Regions from separate parts of the Homo sapiens genome. Here region 1 is linked to region 2. The links are contacts of gene promoters, found by promoter capture Hi-C in human tissues and cell types (Jung and others, 2019). All regions are on one chromosome and are shown on one strand. The core of a region is centred on a gene start or on the middle of the fragment in contact, and the rest is flanking DNA. Distances in the headings are between cores, read along the strand shown. Region 1 overlaps GABRB3 (gamma-aminobutyric acid type A receptor subunit beta3). Region 2 holds the start of GABRA5 (gamma-aminobutyric acid type A receptor subunit alpha5).

Region 1 (4,201 bases), core at 361-2,860, 240 kb after region 2:
CCTCAAAGTCATCCATGAGGGCTGGAATCCACATCTTCCAAACTCCTCTTGGTGTTGATATTTTGACCTCCTCCTATAAATCATGAATGTTCTTACTGACATCTAGAATGACATCTAGTCCTTTCCAGAATGTTTTCAGTTTACTTTGCCCAGATCCGTAAAAATAATCACTGTCTATGGCAGCTACAGCCTTGTGAAATGTATTTCTTAAATAATAAAACTTGAAAGTCAGTTTCTCCTTGATCTATGGGCTGTAGAATGGATGTTGTGTTAGCAGACATGAAAACAACATTCATCTCTTTGTACATATCCATTAGAGCTCTTGAGTGACCAGGTACATTGAAAATGAGCAGTAACATTTTGAAAGGAATGTTTTTTCTGAGCAGAAGGTCTCAACTGTGGGTTAAAAATATTCAGTTTTGTAAACGTGTTGACACCCAGGTTTTATTGTTGGATTTTTTGAGCATAGGCGGAGTAGATTAGCAGAATTCTTAAGGGCCCTGGGATTTTCAAAATGGTGGGTGAGCATTGGCTTCAACTTAAAGTCAGCAGCTGCAATTAGCCCCTAGCAAGAGAGTCAGCCTGTCATTTGAAGCTCCGAAGCCAGACAATGACTTCTTCTCTTTTGCTATGAAAGTCCGACATGGCCTCTTCTTCCATTAGAAAAGACTTCTTCCAAAGTCTACTCTGAAAACCTGTTGTTTAGTGTAACCACCTTCATCAGTGATTTTAGCGGGATCTTCTGGATAACTTGCTGCAGCTTCTCCATCAGCACTTGCTGCTTCACCTTGCACTTTTATGTTATGGAAATGGCTTCGTTGCTTAAACCTCATGAACCAATCTCTCCTATCTTCTAACTTTTCTTCTGCAGCTGCCCTAACTCTTTCAGCCTTCACAGAATTGAAGAGAGTCAGGATTTTACTCCAGATTAAACTTTGACTTAAGGGAACGTTATGGCTGGTTTGATATTCTATCAATATCAGCAGTAAGGCTGTTGGACTTTCTTATCATTCCCCAGAGTAGCACTTTTAATTTCCTACTAAAACTTTTTCTTTGCATTCACAATTGGGCTAACTGGTAGAAAAGGCCTAACTTTGGGCCTATAAAAATCTTTTGCACATCAATCATTTGACCTGCCTCCCTCACTAAGCTTAATCATTTCTGGTTTTTCATTTACCATGAGAGATGGGCGACTCTTCCTTTCACTTAAACCCTTAGAGGCCATTGGAGGGCTACTAACTGGCCTAATGTTGATATTGTTGTGTCTCAGGGAATAGGGAGGCCCAAGGAGAGGGAGAGATACAGGGTTAAGGGTCAGTTGGTAGATCAGTCAGAGGACACACAACATTTGTACGATAAGTTTGCCATCTTATATGGGTGCTATTCCTGGTGCCCCAGAGTGATAATAATAGTAATATCAAATATCACTGATTATAGGTCACCATAACCAATATAAAAGTAATGAAATACTAAGATTGAAATCTTGTGAAAATTACCAAAATATGACCCAGAGACATGAAGTGAGCATATGCTGTTGGAAAAACAGTGTTGTTCAACTTACATGCTCAACGCTGGGTTGCCACAAACCTTCAAATTGTTAAAAATGCAGTATCTGTGAAGCACAGTAAAGTAAGGCAGGCGTGTATCTAATGATACAGATAGTTTCTTGTGCAGCCTGGGGGTCTGGCAAAAGAGGGAACGTTAGCAACTCAATTGGTGGAGGACGCGGGCTGCTTCTGTAAACGATATCAACAGTCTGTCTCATTTGGTGTCTACTGCTACCTCCCCAGCCCCTTGTCAGCCAGCAGGAACCATAGCAACAGGGATCCACCCTGCCGCAGAGTGGCCAGCTTGGCTGTTCTTTGAGAAGCTCCACCCTTCCCAGTCATTTCTTATTTTTGTACCCAGACGTCACCTGAGTCCACCTCGAGCATTAAGGTTAAAGAACAAAGGCTTAATTTCCATTTCATGTTCTGTGAGGAATCCAGTGTCCCCTCTGCTATTCCTTTAATCCTTGGAGCTTTTAAAGTCTCAAAGTATCTTCTGTTTCTGCAGACAGGCTTGGAATTCAAAACTCTGACAGACTCTCCATCCCATGCAAATTCCATCTCTTTGTGACTGTGCTCTTCTCTTTGGTTCATGCCACATCATTGCAAAGGTAAAAATTGGTGACTTCCCTGGGATGTATGGGATGCATTGAAGAAAAGGATACTTTTACAAAGCTTCTTTCTATAGCAGCTGTGCTAAATGTTTGGCGATGGGTTGGGTGTGGAAGGAGGAGTTGGTGGTGCCGGGGTTCTGATTACTGCCCTGAAGAACCCCCCTGCATGACCTGACTCTCCATGCTCAGAGACATCCTTTCAAAGCCCCACCCTGCCAAGCTCACTCCACTTTATTGTGAGGAACTGTTTAGCTCCCATCCCTTGGAGCTTCCACATTGAGAGCCAGGCCCTGAAAGGAGGTGGCCCGAACTTCAAGTTCCACTATCCCGGGTTACTAGTGTTTGAGGGAGTGGAGGGAGTGGATGAGGAGCGAGTTACTTCAGCTCTTCAATTTTTGTTACTTCATCGATATAGGATAATAATTATAATACCTGCCTCCTAGTTAAATGAGGTTCTAGGTAGCACAGGGCGTGGAGTTTGCTGAAGGATCACTCACACAAGCGGCTGCCCGCTGTTCCTGGCTCAGTGCTCACCACTGCACGTCACAAGGAGCGGCACCATGGCTCCCGTAACAGGAAAACCCTGCATTTGCTACTCCCGGCTGCACGAGAGTGGAGGGAGGCTTGGACCTTTCCACCACCCCCTTCCCTTTGTTGCCAGCTAGTAAGTATCCCAGAAAAAAAGGAGGACACTGATTTGTGCCCCCACTGATGTGATAGTCCTTGCCATACATGGCTGATCACATGCAGCGGGTTTGGATTTTCATACTGTTTTTTCCCTCTTGCTGTTACCTAAGCTCTTACCCACTAGTCTACTCAAGTCACCTCAGCAGACACCCAAGACCCAAACTGAGAGGCGCTGCTGGTGGTGCGGAGAGCGACACAGTCCAAAATAAGACGCGGAGCCCGAGCTGTCAGGCTGTGAGTGACAGCCGGGCTCCTAGGGCTGACTGACAAGTTCTCTCCCTTCTTGTGGCAAGCCATGTGCGAGCCCATCCGGAGGGACTCTGAGAAGGGCGCTAGACATCGCGACTCAGGCGTAAGCATGCGGGGTTAGGAGTAAAGAAAGAAACAAGTGAAACTTCTATTTCAATACGAGTGTAACATGGAGGGTGATAGTAGAGAAACTCTGTGGTCGCCACCACTAACACATCCTCCTTTTGTTGTGAAACCACAACTTTGCACGCCTCAGTTCCAGCGCACCGCCCACACCAGCGAAAGGTAATGGTGATGAAGGGGCGGAATATGCCCTGTGAAGGTGCATTCTCATCCTGATGTTCTGCATCAGCCCAGTGTCCGAGAACCTTTCAGGCCTTTGCTTTACCCACCACTCAGCACTGTCCACTCCTCGGAGGCCTCTGCACACCATCCCTTCTACCCCTTGAACTCACCATTGCTACGCTAGTTTTCCTCACAGGCGGCTTTGTGTTTTAAACTGGAGGTTTTATTATTATTTAGGTCAGGCAAGGCCGACAGATCAGGACACAACTGCCATTGAGAGGAGAGTGTGTTCCTTCCAGTTCTGGAGCAGCAGGGAGCCACACCATGCCATGGGGGCTGCTCAGGGAGTGCCAGGGTGGGTCAGGCAGCAGAGGGAGGGGAAATGCCTTTATTGTGGTTGCTGGGAAGGAATGGGTGACACGGGGTGTGCAGGCTCAGAATTGGCTGGTTTAAATAATTTCAGGCCCTTGGGGCACAGGGGCTGTCTTTAGTTGTCCATTACCTGGACCTGGGGCAGTTTAAGCGGGTGATAGGGACCCCAGAATGTGCAAGCTCAGTAAAAGAGGTGATTGGAGTCTAAGCCGCTGAAATCTATGCTCTATGAATTTATGGCATAATAGGTATAAAAAATAAAAGACCTCTGGACTGTAAAAACAAACAAACAAACAAAAGAGATGGTTGGGGTGTGGGTTCTGGACTGGTTGGTTTGCATGTGAAAAGTACACTCCTAGGAGAGTTGCTAGCCGTCTCTCGGAATTAGCCAGCCCTGGAAGGGGCCCTCCCTCCAAGGTCCACAGGGTCGCAGATCAAAGCATCAGA
Region 2 (3,786 bases), core at 147-2,646:
CGCAAATAGGTGCTCACAGGCATCCGAACAGTATGCTTCGAAAAGAAGCATTTTCCCAAGAAGCCCCCCCAACCCCCATCCCCCGCAAACTCCGGAATTGGGAGACACAACAGGTACTTCCACCTCGGAAGCGAAGGCCTTCTGCGACTCCTGCCAAGAAGGGCAGGGTGCCATGCGGTGGTCGCCTGGGCGCGTCCGGGGGGCTCGTCGCGGGGCCCGGGCCAGAGCCAGGCGGCGAGCACGCGGCGCTGCATGCGGGAAACCCGGGCGGCGCCTCCCGCCGCCCCTCAGCCCCGAGCCAGGGACCCCCAGGAGAGGCTGCGCTCCCACGACCCTCCGGACCCCCACAGAGGCTCACCAGGGCCGGCGCGCCAGGGCAGGTGGGCGCGGGGGCTGCACTGCGGAGCCGCAGCCTGGGTCGCCCTGGCACCCGCGGTCGCCACCCGCGCGGTCCGCAGCGGCACGCCGAGGGTCTCCAGCTCCCCGGCCCTCCCCGGCTCGCTCCCGGCTTTCGCAGACTTCCCCTGCTCCTGCCCCGGGTACGAGCCAAGCGCTCCGCCAGGCAGCGCCTTCCTCCTGGGCTGGGAGCGCGCGGTGCAGCAGCGACTCCAAGTCCCCTGGCCTCGAGCAGCCCGCGCGACACGCGCGCGACACCCCCGCGGGGTCCGAGTCCACCCCGCGAGCAGCGCCGGGACGCCGCGCGCCTCAGAGCCCCGGGGCTGACGCTGGCTTTCCAGGTGGGCGATCTCACCCCTCCGGCTCCCGTGATGGTGGCAACGGGTGTCCCCCACCCCCAACCGGTCACCGCGCCCTGGTGCCCCGTCCGGCAGGGATGAGCCGCCCGGACCCCGCTCTCTCCCGCGCCCGGCTTCAGCCCCGCAGTCGCCAGGGTAAAGTTTGCGCTCTGGCCTGGCTGCGCGCCCCGCCTGCTCTGCACCTCTCCTCCCCGGCCACGCAGCCTGCCGCTCAGGCGCCCCGAGGAGAAGGGTGCGGACCGAGCCGGGGCGGCCGGTCCTCTTCCCCGCTCGCGTCCTCTTACCCCACTGCCCCGGCCCAGCGCGCCCAGGGCTCACCCTGCGCGCCGGCCCCGGGAGGCGAGCCGTCGGTGAGGATGCATCCTCCTTCTCCTCCGCCTGCTCTCGCCCGGCTGGCAGGCGCGGAAGGCCGGTGCGGCGTCACCGCCCCATGCTGCCAGCGCGAACTTCCCCGGCACTCCCGGCGGAGCGGCTCTTGCGCCCCGCGCTCCCGCCGCCGCCCTGCAGCTCCGCTCCGCGCCGCGCCCCGGGCCGCGCGCCGCCCGCCGCAGAGCCCCCCAGCGCCCCCGGCGCACTCGCGCCCGCTCTCACCTCGCCCGAGCGCCACATGTCGTCTCTGGGCTGGAGGATCGGCCCTCTGCAGAGGTGCTCCGGTAGAGGCCGCCAGACGCTCAGCAAATGCGCCCTTGGCCGAGCTGGGCGGAGGGGGAGGGCGCAGGGCCCCCGGCTCGGCCTGCAAGGGGAGAGGCCCTGTTCTGCTGAAGTTTCTCCAGGGCCCTCAACAGCATCTTCGGCGCCTCGTGTAGTCACCACCGCCCGCTTGTAGAGCAGGGATGGGAGGGCAGTGTCAGCAGTCGGGTGATAGAGGCCTGGACTCCGACAGCTTTGCTCCCTAGAGCCGGCCCCAACGCCTCCCTGCCCAGGCCTGGGTCCTTCCCGGGTGCTCCATGGCACCCCTTACATGCGCATCTCTTAGGCGCTTCTGAAAGAAGCTGGCCTGTGGACATTCTTTTCATCTCACTCATAGACAGGAATGCATAACTACGGGAGGGAAAGCCAGGGTCACATTGGACTCGATTAGAATGAAATCCTTACCTAACGCAGTGTATATCTGGGGGTTTTCTGAAGTTCCATTTCTTGACAACAAGCCGCAGTGGCAAACGGGAAAGGGCCAGGAGCCCTGGGGGCTGCAGGTCGGAGAGCGCCTCTGGGGTGACGGGGCGGGATCTCCCCAGCAGGGCTTCCGAGCCACGTCGGGTCACTGCCTCATTAGCCACGTACATGGGGTCTTACTATGGTCATTACGTCGGTGTGTCGTCCGTCCTAGTGGTGCAGTTCCTGGGAGGTGAGGGTGGCATTAATGACAACTGCGCGGCAGCAGGGCCCCTTCAAACAACACAAGTAAGAGCGCATCGTCTTGGGTTTGCCAGGTCTTGCTTCCTCAGGAGGTGGGGGACTCTCGACTATAACACCCAGTGGAAAACGTTCAAGACTCAAAGGAAAGCCACTGAAAACGTGATGGGGAGGTTTACTTACACCATTGTCCCATTCCTTTTGTGAAACTGCATTATTCATAATCTCTTTTAACAGAATAATGGTAAGTAAAGGCAAATTCCTAACTCCCCTCCAGGAAAGATCTTTGACCTTCCAGTGTAGGAAGCCTCTCATTTTTCCAGTTATCTCTAATACAGTGTATTCCAAATCTAAGTTACCTGTTAATACTTCTGCACATTCCAGAAATTCTGAAATTTTCTGAAAAACAAAACTTGTAAATCTATTCCAGGAATAGGACATAAATATACATAAATGTGCAAATATACAGGAAGTGTTTCTCTGAATATACATTTAGCCACACTATTAAATAACTGTTTCCAGTGGTTCTTCAGGAAATATGAATGAAATAAGATGCTAATTTGAATTTTCTAATTCTAAAATGGATCACTGAACGTATGCATTTCTTCATTTTCTAATTTCCCAAAAGATGTACCACTAGGGTGAAATTCCTTGGGAGACATTAAATTTTAAAAAGTTAACAACATGGTTTTATGATCAGCCTAATATAATTTTCACCTATTAGGTGTTGGAATTCTAACACCTAATACCAGCGACAGCTGCTCTTCTCTCAGGATTAAACAGCATAATGCAAATCAAAGAGTTGGAAGAATTGGTAAATTTTAAACTTCACAGCTTGTCACACAAAGTCATTCGGTGTGAGTTTGCAAAAATAAATGTATATAAACAAGGGATGATTTTTGTATTAGCGAGGGTTATAGACATTAATTCTTAATAATAAAAGAAATGTCAGCTGTAAGGAAATATGTTCTTTTGATGGATTATGTTTAAAACTTCCACTTTTTTTGGTACACTTTCTATCAGCTTTATGTCCACACAACACATATTATTGAATATATAAAAATCATTTTAAGTTAGAGTCATTCTTTAACATTGTATTTCAGCATGTTGCTTAAATTCTTTTCTCTTCCCTGTAATGAAACGGTATGCCACTCTCTCTCCTCCTAGTGTTTATGTAACATAACATAGCCTCACTTTAGATGGACTGCCCTGAGGGGACAGTGAAATCGTAAGGCCCATCAGAACCTTACAGAAACTCACATTGCTAGAAGAGTGCTTACTACCATTTCAATGATTTTTGTTTTACTATAGAATTCTGTATTTGTGCTGAGAAATAATAGGCTATCCGTTGAATTCCCATTTGTTTCATTAGCATTTTCTCTTCATTGAATGAAATTAAGCAATGTCGTGATCGTTGTGGAAGACAGTAGAGGGCACCCTAGTTCCACACAACCTCAGCCTTGGCCCGGGCTTCATAAGAATTTCATTTCCAGTGTCAGAGCCTAAAATAGCTGAAGGTGGGGAAGCTGGGCCATGAGTAGAACACGTGTTCACAGAGCACCCACCCTGTACCCCGGTCAGGGGCAGGAACTGAGACAGTGGCTGTGTTTGCGTGGTTGGGTGTGGTAAATGTGGCTGAGACATGAACACAGTGCCATGGTATAAGTGAGATCATGTG

The links. The method cuts DNA at HindIII sites, captures the fragments that hold promoters and counts their contacts. A contact is called where the count stands out against the background at its distance.
Region 1: a contact is called between a fragment that was not itself captured here and the fragment with the promoter of GABRA5 in region 2, in 1 of the 25 tissues and cell types used here (dorsolateral prefrontal cortex).

Annotation. Positions count from the first base shown.
Region 1 is chr15:26,623,389-26,627,589 of GRCh38, reverse strand. The region is part of intron 3 of GABRB3 (gamma-aminobutyric acid type A receptor subunit beta3); the gene reads left to right. Among named protein-coding and RNA genes, the nearest start is that of GABRB3, 150 kb to the left of the region's middle. The HindIII fragment of the contact is 3,725 bases long and covers 1-3,472 here.
Region 2 is chr15:26,864,672-26,868,457 of GRCh38, reverse strand. It overlaps GABRA5 (gamma-aminobutyric acid type A receptor subunit alpha5), which reads right to left and starts at 1,396. Exons shown (of 11, transcript NM_000810.4): 1 at 1,347-1,396. The HindIII fragment of the contact is 20,920 bases long and covers 1-3,786 here.